2 separate regions of the Homo sapiens genome follow, and region 1 is linked to region 2. Evidence: promoter capture Hi-C in 16 types of primary human blood cells and fetal thymus (Javierre and others, 2016). All regions are on one chromosome and are shown on one strand. The core of a region is centred on a gene start or on the middle of the fragment in contact, and the rest is flanking DNA. Distances in the headings are between cores, read along the strand shown. Region 1 overlaps KLHDC4 (kelch domain containing 4). Region 2 holds the start of CA5A (carbonic anhydrase 5A).

Region 1 (5,439 bases), core at 236-2,735, 170 kb after region 2:
CTCAAAACAAACTTTTAAAATAAGTGGGCGTCTGATTAGGCTAGACCCACAGAGGATCATCTCTTTCTTAAATTCAGCTGTGTCTGTAATACAACCTAATCACAAGAGTGGTATCCCATTCTTTCACAGTCCTGGCAATTATTGGGGGAAGGATTGGGGACAGTTTGGAATTCTGCTCCCACAGAACTCATGTATCAGGTCACCTGGTTCGCACCTTCACTTAGTCCTGGCCTCTGCCTGTCTTTCCAGCTGTCTCCCTGGGCTCACTCCAGCCACAGTGTCTTTTAGTGTCTCAAACATGGCAAGTTGTGTCTGTGGTCTTACCTATACCCCAACCATACTCCGTCTGAGTCGTCTTTTCAGCATTCAGCTTATTGTCACTTTGGAGAGGCTGTCACTGGCTAGGCCACTGGCGTCACCCAGACCCTACCACCTTGCTCTCCTTCAGTCACCCAATGATGATGAGGTTCAGCCAAGGTCAAAGACCGCTCTAAGTAGCAGCAGCAAAGCTTTCGCGGTACATAGACGTTAGTATTTGAACTGTTTGTTTAACCTCGTTGAGCAAAAAAAGCAAGTTGAAAGAATATACAGTATGATACCATTTAATGACATTTTATTTTTTATTTTTTTTGAGATGGAGTCCTGCTCTGTCACCCAGAGCAAGTGTCGCAGTGGCATGATCTCAGCTCATTGCAACCTCTGCCTCCCAGGCTCAAGCAATTCTCCTGCCTCAGCCTCCCGAGTAGTTTGGGACTACAGGTGTGCGCCACTGTGGCCGGCTAATTTTTGTATTTTTTAGTAGAGACGGGGTTTCACCGTGTTGGTCAGGCTGGTCTCGAACTCCTGACCTCAAATTATCCACCTGCCTCGGCCTCCCAAAGTTCGGGGATTACAGGCGTGAGCCACTGTGCCCAGTCCATTTAATGACATTTAAAAATGTAAAACAATACTATATGTTGCTTAGGGATACACATGTGTAATAAAAGATTGAAGAAAAGCGTGAGACTAATAAGCATCGAGTTCCAGATAGTGGTTACTTGAGGGAATGTGTGGGTGGGTACATGTGGGTGACACTTTATTCCTTACCCTGGGAACCGTATACAGGAATGTCTTGGATAAAGTTCTGTTAACTTGTGTGTTTTAAATATTGCATCGTTTAGAATACTAAGCAGTGTACCCTGCTGACATTCACCCTGAGATGAGAGGTAGACTGAAGGAAGCACGAGGTGGGGCGTGGCAGGCTGAGGGAACCTGGCGTTTTCATTGAAGGAACGGAGAGGACGCTGGTGTATCTTGGAGAGTGAGGCCAGGTGGGAGGTGAGGTTGGAGAGGTGGGTGTGGGGGAGGGAAGATGGTCTGCAGGTGTGTGTAGTTGCAAGCAGGACACTGAAGGCTAGAAGGAACTTGAAATGCCAGGCTCGGGTGTGCATGGGAGTGTCTCGTAAATGTTGGGAAATGGGCACTGGGACTGAGGCGGGAACACTGGGTTCCAGTGCTGCCCTCTGTGCTGGCACATCAGTACCTTGAGTCACTCTCGATGGTAGTAAAAGTTGAGACCTTCTTACTTGGATAGACTGCAGCTGGTATTTGCTGAGCTCTTGCTGTGCAGGCAGTGTTTTAACTAGACACAAGTCTTGCTCTGGTGGAGCTCATATTTTATTATTTTGTTGGGGTGGAGGAAACAAATAAGCAAGAGAAATATATCAGACACTGCTCAGCAGACAGGAAGGCAGGCAGGCGTGACGGCCCAGGCCTGGGCTCTGAGAGGTGCTGAGGGTGTCTGCAGTGAAGTCACGATGGGCTTGTCTAAGTGGAAGTTCTTGTCAGACACTGCTCTGCAGACAGGAAGGCTGGCAGGTGCGACGGCTCGAGTCTGGGTTATGAGAGGTGCTGAGAGTGTCTGCAGTGAAGTCACAACGGGCTTGTCTAAGTGGAAGGTCTTGCAGAGGGAGCGTTAAGGGTGTGGAGATAATACTTGGTGCACACATCTACCCTTTAAGCAGACTGCCTTTGAGGTCAAGCTCTGGTTACTTTCGAATGTGTCAAACTCTGCATTTCAAACAGGCACAGTATGTTGCAATTCACAGATGTGACTGAGCCCAGTCGAATCACACTGATTGGAGGAAAGCTGAGCGGGCTGTGGCTCCGCGGCGGGTCCTGGGAATAAGTCTCACGTGTGCCTGCTTGCTTGCCCTAGGAAGACCTGGAAGCGCTCATAGCCCATTTCCAGACACTCGATGCCAAGAGGACTCAGACTGTGGAACTTCCGTGCCCCCCACCCTCACCAAGGTGAGCAAGTAGCATTTTTCATATTGTATGTTTCCTTTTCTTCTATACATTGAAAAACTGCTTTAAATAGCACCAGGTTTCGTAAATGACCAGGCACTTGGGACATTTTCATTATTAAAACCTGTTCTTGGTCACTTTCTGCTGAAGAACTGGAATGAGGCTGTAAGCTTTACTGTCATGGAACCTGGGAGCAGGGCCTACAGCACAGCTGCTGCCTCTGGGCTCCGGTGCCAACTTTGAAAGCTCCTCCACTGGTCGTGACGTGGGGATGAAAGTTTTGCCCCAGTGAGCTTTTCTTTGGTTCTTAAGGTATTTTAAAAGTGCGTACTGTAGGCAGAAAGCTGAAAATCACTGTGGCCTTTTGATGTGTTTGTAATGCTTTCAAATTCTCATGTGAAAAGTTTGTTAAACATAAATTGAGTATAAGCCATTTTAAATGGATTTGAAAATTACGTAAAAACGTTCCGAGTCTGTAGGATTTCATACACGTGTGGGATGAGCTGGAATGAGAAATGGTTTATTTCCCTCAGTAGGAGATTAACCTTGCAGGATTTACCCTTTTAATAAAGCTGCTGCAGGCCCTAGTGGAAGCCGGGGTTCAGCCCATCGGGAGTGGAGGGTCACGATTGTGCTGCGTTTGCATTAATGAGGCGCATGTGATGGCTCTGGTGCCCGAGTCCCACCCACCGGCCTCAGAGGCAGGGTTATCATCACCTGCCCAGAGGTGGGAGGAGCACGGTGATCAGCCCCTGAGCAGAGTGAGTGGTGTTGGAGCCACTCCCAAAGGCCAGTGTCCTTCCTGGTTTTCACTTCATGTCCATTAGGATTTTAGTTTTCTTTTTCCCTTTAGTTTGCATGTTGCCCTCAGGGCCAAATGTAAGTTACATGTGGTAAATGTACTTTTTTTTTTCTTTTTGAGATGGAGTCTCACTCTGTCATCCAGGCTGGAGTACAGTGGCATGATCTTGGCTCACTACAACCTCTGCCTCCCAGGTTCAAGTGATTCTCCTGCCTCAGCCTTCCAAGTAGCTGGGATTACAGGCGCCAGCCACCATACCCAGCTAATTTTTGTATTTTTAGTAGAGATGGGGTTTTGCCATGTTGGCCTGGCTGGTCGTGAACTCCTGACCTTAGGTAATCCACCTGCCTTGGCCTCCCAAAGTGCTGGGATTACAGGCGTGAGTCGCTGTGCCTGGCTGTAAATGTACATTTTCATTTGAGTTATTGGAGCAAATAAATCCTTGATCTTAGGCTTCTGATATATAGCACTCCTGAGGAAAGCCACTTTGAATGGGGATTAGTTTTATTTTTTTTGTAGAGACTTTTTTTTTTTTTTTTTTTTGGGACGGAGTCTCACTCTGTCACCCAGGCTGGAGTACAGTGGCGCCATCTTGGTTCACTGCAAGCTCTGCCTCCCGGGTTCACGCCATTCTCCTGCCTCAGCCTGCCAAGTAGCTGGGACTACAGGCACCCGCCACCAAGCCTGGCTAATTTTTTGTGTTTTTAGTAGAGACGGGGTTTCACCATGTTGGCCAGGATGGTCTTGATCTTCTGACCTCGTGATCCGCCCGCCTCAGCCTCCCAGAGTGCTAGGATTACAGGCGTGAGCCACCGTGCCCGGCCCTGTAGAGACTTTTTTTTATGTTGTCCAGGCTGGTCTCGAGTTCCTGGGCTCAAGTCACCGTACCTGGCCTTTTTCTTTTTTTTTTTTTTTAATGATATTTTAGAATTTTTCCATAAGTAATGTTGCCTGAAAGTCAGATTTCATGTCAGGATATAATTTAAGGTGTTGGCAGTTCCCTGGGTCAGCTGGAAATGCTTCCTAATAGGAGGGAGCAGTTATCCTGAGATTAAGATCTTTTGCTTGGTAACCTTAATATCTTCCAACTTCCTATTTCTTAATCATATTACTTTAAAACCTTGTGAGAATGACCAGTTTCTAAATGAGCATATCGTCAGGATTGGCTCTGATGTGACCTACCTGGAAAATGGGGGCATGACACCAGCTGCCTCAGTACCTCACCTGCCTGTGCGGCGGCAACACCTGGGCTGGTGCCGCTGGTGGCTGGGTGGGGACCTCAGTTTGGGCCCCGTGTAGATCGTTTCTGAAGTTGTGTTTGGTGCTTTTCTGCAGAAAATCAATAGGTATTCAGTGAGAAAAGATTCAGGGTCAGAGGAATTTGGGAAACACTCTTTATTTTTTTTTCTGAGACGGAGTGTAGCTCTTGTTGCCCAGGCTGGAGTGCAATGGCACGATCTCGGCTCACTGTAGCCTCCTAGGTTCAAGTGATTCTCCTGCCTCAGCCTCCGGAGTAGCTGGGACAATAGGCATGCACCACCACGCCCGGCTAATTTTGTATTTTTAGTAGAGACGGAGTTTCTCCGTGTTGGTCAGGCTGGTCTTGAACTCCCGACCTTAGGTGATCCACCCACCTCGGCCTCCCAAAGTGCTGGGATTACAGGCGTGAGCCACTGTACCCGGCCTATTTATTATTTTTAAAAAGTTTTTTTTTTTCTTTTTTTCTTTTCTGAGACGGAGTTTTGCTTTTGTTGCCCAGGCTGGAGTGCTATGGCGCGATCTCAGCTCACTGCAACCTCTGGAGTCAGGCTGGCCTCAAATTCCTGACCTCAGATGATCCAACTGCCTTGGCCTCCCAAAATGCTGTGATTACAGGTGTGAGCCACTGCACCCGACCTAAAAAGTTTTTTTTATTGTGGTAAAATGTTTAACAAAATTTGCCATTTTATTTTATTTTTGTTTGGTTTTGGTTTTTTTGAGACAGAGTTTTGCTCTTGTTGCCCAGGCTGGAGTGCAATGGTATGATATCGGCTCACCGCAACCTCCACCTCCCAGGTTCAAGCAATTCTTCCTCAGCCTCCCAAGTAGCTGGGATTACAGGCATGCGCCACCATGCCTGGCTAATTTTGTATTTTTAGTAGAGATGGGGTTTCCTCATGCTGGCCAGACTGGTCTCGAACTCCCCACCTCAGGTGATCCGCCCGCCTCGGCCTCCGAAAGTGCTGGGATTACAGGCATGAGCCAATGCGCCTGGCCAAAATTTGCCATTTTAATCATTAAAACTGTGCAGTTCAGTGGAATTACTTCATGTCGCTGTGCAACCATTAGCACTAACCAGTTGCAACATTGTT
Region 2 (5,351 bases), core at 1,448-3,947:
CCATGGGGCAGCAGGGAGATGAGGAAGACAGGGAGACCCCCAGCCCACGGGTACTGCTGCAACGCAGTCAACCTAAACTGGGCAGGCTGAAGAGGGCAGGACGGCTGAGGATGGCAGAGGACATGCCCCAGGAGCCTGTGGGGCATCATCGGCTGCCCAGGTGAGTGTACTCAGGAGATGCCCCTGCTCACATGGGGCTGGCAATGCCTGGGGTGGGAGCTTGGCCTGCAGCAATGAAAGTGCCGCTCTAAGGACATCACTTGTGTCAACAACAGCTCGACAGAGTGTTATCGTGTATGATGGAATCCTAGAATCTTCCCTACTTTACAGATGAGGAAATGGAGGCAAAAGCCAATGAATTAATGAGTGAATGAATGAATGAGTGAATGAGTGAATGAATGAGTGAATGAGTGAATGAGTGAGTGAATGAATAAGTGAGTGAATGAGTGAGTGAATGAATGAATGAATGAGTGAATGAATGATTGACTGAGTGAGAGAATGAATGAGTGAGTGAATGAATGAGTGAGTGAGTGAATGAGTGAGTGAGTCAATGAGTGAGTGAGTGAGTCAATGAATGAGTGAGTGGGTCAATGAATGAATGACAATGAATCAGACTTCCCAAGAGTGGGTGCATTTCCACCATGACTGTGTGGGAAGGAGAGAACATATCATCCAGACTTGGTTTTTGTTGCTCAAAACAAATGCAAGCAAACTCTTGGGCCCACCAGAGCAGTGGCCGAAAGCCGCAGACCCTATCCATTGTGTGGGGGATTTCAGTGGGATTCTTGGGCTTTCAGGAGCCTACAAGTGGACTCGCATTTCAACACCTGTGTTCTGTAGGGTTTTCTAGATCTAAGATTCCAGGATTCTATGAAAAGTTATGATAGCCCTGCCCCCTAAAAGATTGTAAGTTTAAACAACAACAAGAAGTCACAAACTGGTGCATCCCAATCCCATGGGTTCCATTTCACAGGTAAAAGGTGTCTGGGTGAATAAACTGCTGTGCCGCTCAAAGGACCCAAAGGAAGGTTCTTTGTGGGTTGGCGTCTGCAAATATCACCAGCTGCCTGGCTAGAGTGACCAGCTAACATACCCATGTGGACCCTGGGCATGAAGGGAGGTACCAGGCCAGGGGCAGTGGCTCATGCCTGTAATCCGAGCACTTTGGGAGGCCACTCTGGGAGGATTGCTTGAGCCCAGGAGTTCAAGACCAGCCTGGGCAACATGGCGAGAACCTGCCTCTACAAATAATTTTTAAAATTAGCTGGACATAATGGCATGCACCTATAGTCCCAGCTACTTGGGAGGCTGAGGAGGGAGGATCACTTGAGCCTGGGTGATTGAGACTGCAGTGAGCCATGATGGCACCACCGCACTCCACCTTGGGTGACAGAGCAAGACCTCACCTCAAAAAAAAAAAAAAAAAGAAAGAAAGAAAGAAAGAAAGAAAGAAAGAAAAGAAAAGAGGCTGGACGCAGTGGCTCATGCCTGTAATCCTAGCACTTTAGGAGGCCGAGGTGGGTGGATTGCCTGAGCTCAGGAGTTCGAGACCAGCTTGGGGAACACAGTGAAACCCCGTCTCTACTAAAAATACAAAAAATTGGCCGTTGTGGTGGTGTGTGCCTATAATCCCAGCTACTCAGGAGGCTGAGACAGGAGAATTGCTTAAACCTGGGAGGCAAAGGTTGCAGTGAGGCAGGATCACGCCATTGCACTCCAGCCTGGGCAACAGAGCGAGACTCCATCTCAAAAAAAGAAAGAAAGAAAAGAAAAGAAACGAAGAAAAGAGGCTGGGCGTAGTGGCTCACACTTGTAATCCCAGCACTTTGGGAGGCCGAGGCAGGCAGATCACCTGAGGTCAGGAGTTCAACACCAGCCTGGCCAACGTGGTGAAACCCCATCTCTACTAAAAATACAAAAAATTAGCTGGGCATGGTGGTGGGCGCCTGTAATCCCAGCTACTCAGGAGGCTGAGGCAGGAGAATTGCTTGAACCTGGGAGGCAGAGGTAGCAGTGAGCCGAGATCACGCCATTGCACTCTAGCCTGGGCAACAGAAGTGAAACTCTGTCTAAAAAAAAAAAGAAAAGGAAAGAAAGAAAGGTGGCCCTGTTAATGTTTATGCCAAGACAGCAGGCATGACCTGGAAGTGTCCGAAGCCACAGGGCATCTTGCTTCCGGGGAGGATGAATGAATCAAATCGCACCTATTTTAAGGCAAGCAAGGACTCCATGACTTCAGGAGCCCTGGTGGGTGGACAGAAGCTCCCTGCTCCCCTGGCCTGTCTACCCAGCAGCGCTTTGGCCAGTCCCATTCCTGTACTTCTGAGCCTGCCTGCCAGTCCCTCCTCACATGCACACCATGGCTTTGTGCCTGGTATTGAGTGTCCCGGAGCCCCAAACCACACGGTCAACCCCATGAAAGAAACAGGGACTCTGCTCTCATCCACTCGCCCCCGCCTCCCGCGTAATCCCCTGGTGCTCACGCAGCCCCACCGTACAGTTTTTCTAGCTCCCTGGCAGACTTGTGCTCCTGTTTGCCAGATCAAAGCCCAGTGACCTGAGTGGCCTGTCCCCAGCAGAGGCCACTAATCCCTGTGGACCCACCCTGTTGGGAAAGGCATGGGTTGAACTTTAACCATTAGGCTCAGGGGTTGGGATGAGTTTCTACAAAAAGAGGTGGGTACACGCCAGTCCACAGTGGTCCTGATCAAAGTGAGAACAGACAGCAGGGAACATCACCCTCTTCAGACTGGAGTCAGTGGGAACAGACCCAAGATGTTGGGGAGGAACACTTGGAAGACCTCAGCTTTCTCCTTCTTGGTTGAGCAGATGTGGGCCCCTCTCTGGAGTCGTTCGATGAGGCCAGGGCGATGGTGTTCTCAGCGTTCCTGTGCATGGCAAACCAGCAATAACACTTGTAAGTAGAGCCTCAAATTTCCTAAGATGCGACTGGATCCTTGTCTTAGCTGATGGGGTCTTTCGAGAGGAGAGAGGAGAGACCGTCCCGAGCCAGATGGGTTCAGATTTCCACTCCGTTTTTTTTTTTTTTTTTTTAAGATGGCGTCTCGCTCTGTGGCCCAGGCTGGAGTACAGTGGCGTGATCTCAGCTCACCACAACCTCCACTTCCCGGGTTCAAGCGATTCTCCTGCCTCAGCTTCCTGAGTAGCTGGGACTATAGGTGCATGCCACCACTCCTGGCTAATTTTTCGTATTTTTAGTAGAGACAGGGTTTCACTGTGTTAGCCAGGTTGGTCTCGAACTCCTAACCTCGCGATCCGCCTGTCTCAGCCTCCCAAAGTGCTGGGATTGCAGGCATCAGCCACGGCGCCCGGCCCTCTTTTTTCTTTTTTTGATGAAGTTTTGCTCTTTTGCCCAGGCTAGAGTGCAATGGCATGATCTCGGCTCACTGCAACCTCTGCCCTCCAGGTTCAAGTGATTCTCCTGCCTCAGCCTCCAAAGTAACTGGGACTACAGGCACCCGCCACTGCACCCAGCTAATTTTTTGTATTTTGGTAGAGATGGGGTTTCACCATGTTGGCCAGGCTGGTCTCGAACTCCTGACCTCAGGTGATCCACCCACCTTGGCCTCCCAAAGTGCTAGGATTACAGGCGTGAGCCACCGCGCCTGGCCACACTCCGTTTCTCTTGTATTTGGTGACCTTGGGTGAATCATTTAGCCTCCGTTTCAGGGGTCCTGGGGAGGGCAAGATGCTGGGAGCAGGCGGGTAGTCCGTGTTCGCACGGGACACACTGGCACGACTCACCATCCAGACCCGGCGGAATGGGCTGCACTAACCAGTCACGATCGCTCCTAAACTCTTCGGCAGAGAACGCTTTCAAGCAAACCTGTAACAAATAAACCACTCAGCCAGCTCTGCCAAGAAACTGCCCCGTGCCAGCCCCTCCTGGCTTCATGGTCAGTGCCTTGTGACCTTGAACGAGGCCCTTCCTCTTTCTGGGTCTCAGGTGCTTCCTCCGTAGAATGAGAGCCTGCTTTGGCAGCTGCCAAGTTCTCTTCTAACTGAAATCTTCCATGCATTCCATGTTTGGGCCATTGAAAGAGCATGGGCTTAGGAGCCAGACCCCAGGCATGCAGTCCGACTGACGCTTGCTGAGGTGGAGCCTCGGCAGGTCTTCACCCCCAAGCCTCTGTGTCCTTATCTCGAGATGGGGGTGGCCAGACTTTCTCTCCAGGGCCATGGAAGGATGACACGATGCGTGTAGAAAGCCTGGCCCACCCCAGACTCTGAGTGAGCTACACTCATTCCTCCTGTTGGGGTCCACACCTGTGGACTGGAGTGCAGTGGTGCGATCTCGGCTCACTGCAGCCTCTGCCTCCTGGGTTCAAGCGATCCTCTTGACTCAGCCTCCCAAGTAGCTGGGACTACAGGCGTGTGCCACCACGCCCAACTAATTTCTGTATTTTTAGTAGAGATAGGATTTCGCCATGTTGGCCAGGCTGGTCTCAAACTCCCGACCTCAGGTGGTCTACCTGCCTCGGCCTCCTAAAGTGCTGGGATTACAGGCGTGAGCCACTGCACCCACCCCCCTTTTTTATTCTTAGTACGACCGTCAAGAGCGCTAGCCTGCCTAGATTGGAATCTTGGCCCCACTGCTCTATGGCTGTTGCCCCTCTGTGACTTTCCTTTATTTTTTGAGACTAATTTCTGTCTTGTTGCCCAGGCTGGAGCGCAGTGGTGCGATCTCCAGCTCACCGCAACCCCCACCTCCCAGGTTCAAGCAATTCTCCTGCCTCAGCCTCCCGAGTAGCTGGAATTACAGGCATGCGCCACCACATCCGGCTAATTTTGTATTTTTAGTAGATACAGGGATTCTCCATGTTGCTCAGGGTGGTCTTGAACTCCCAGCCTCAGGTGATCTGCCCGCCTCAGCCTCCCAAAGTGCTGGGATTGCAGGCGTGAGCCACCACGCCCAGCTGTCCCCTCTGTGACTTTCTTAACTTCCCCCAGCCTTGGTTTTGTCGTCTGTAACAGGGGGTTGATAATGGTGCTTACGGCACAGTGTCGTTGGGAGAAGGGTCCGAGGTGGGGCCTGCAAAGGCTGGGGACAGCACATGGCTCCAGGAAGCCCTTGCTAGACGCCAGCTGCTGCTGTTGCTAACACAGGCAGCGGTGGGTGCCCTGTGTCTATTTAAGCATTTCCCTGTCAGTGGGCAGCAGGTAGCATTCCATTTCTTACTGTGGCAACATGTCCTCTTACATCGTGTGCTAGAGAGAGTCATATTCTGTATCGGCACCTAAATCCATTTACACCATGGTCCTCAACCTGTTCCCAGTGAACAGAGGGCTCTGCCAAATCATTTCAGAGTTCCACAAAGAGCAGAATATTC

The links. The method cuts DNA at HindIII sites, captures the fragments that hold promoters and counts their contacts. A CHiCAGO score of 5 or more calls a contact.
Region 1: a contact is called between a fragment that was not itself captured here and the fragment with the promoter of CA5A in region 2, in 3 of 17 cell types (naive CD8 T cells, activated CD4 T cells and naive CD4 T cells). The highest score is 7.0, in naive CD8 T cells.

The regions. Positions count from the first base shown.
Region 1 is chr16:87,758,799-87,764,237 of GRCh38, reverse strand. It overlaps KLHDC4 (kelch domain containing 4), which reads left to right. Exons shown (of 12, transcript NM_017566.4): 2 at 2,198-2,289. Among named protein-coding and RNA genes, the nearest start is that of KLHDC4, 4.5 kb to the left of the region's middle. RefSeq lists an enhancer at 1,797-1,866. The HindIII fragment of the contact is 1,947 bases long and covers 512-2,458 here.
Region 2 is chr16:87,933,875-87,939,225 of GRCh38, reverse strand. It overlaps CA5A (carbonic anhydrase 5A), which reads left to right and starts at 2,697. Exons shown (of 7, transcript NM_001739.2): 1 at 2,697-2,917. The coding sequence starts at 2,776. The HindIII fragment of the contact is 28,449 bases long and covers 1-5,351 here.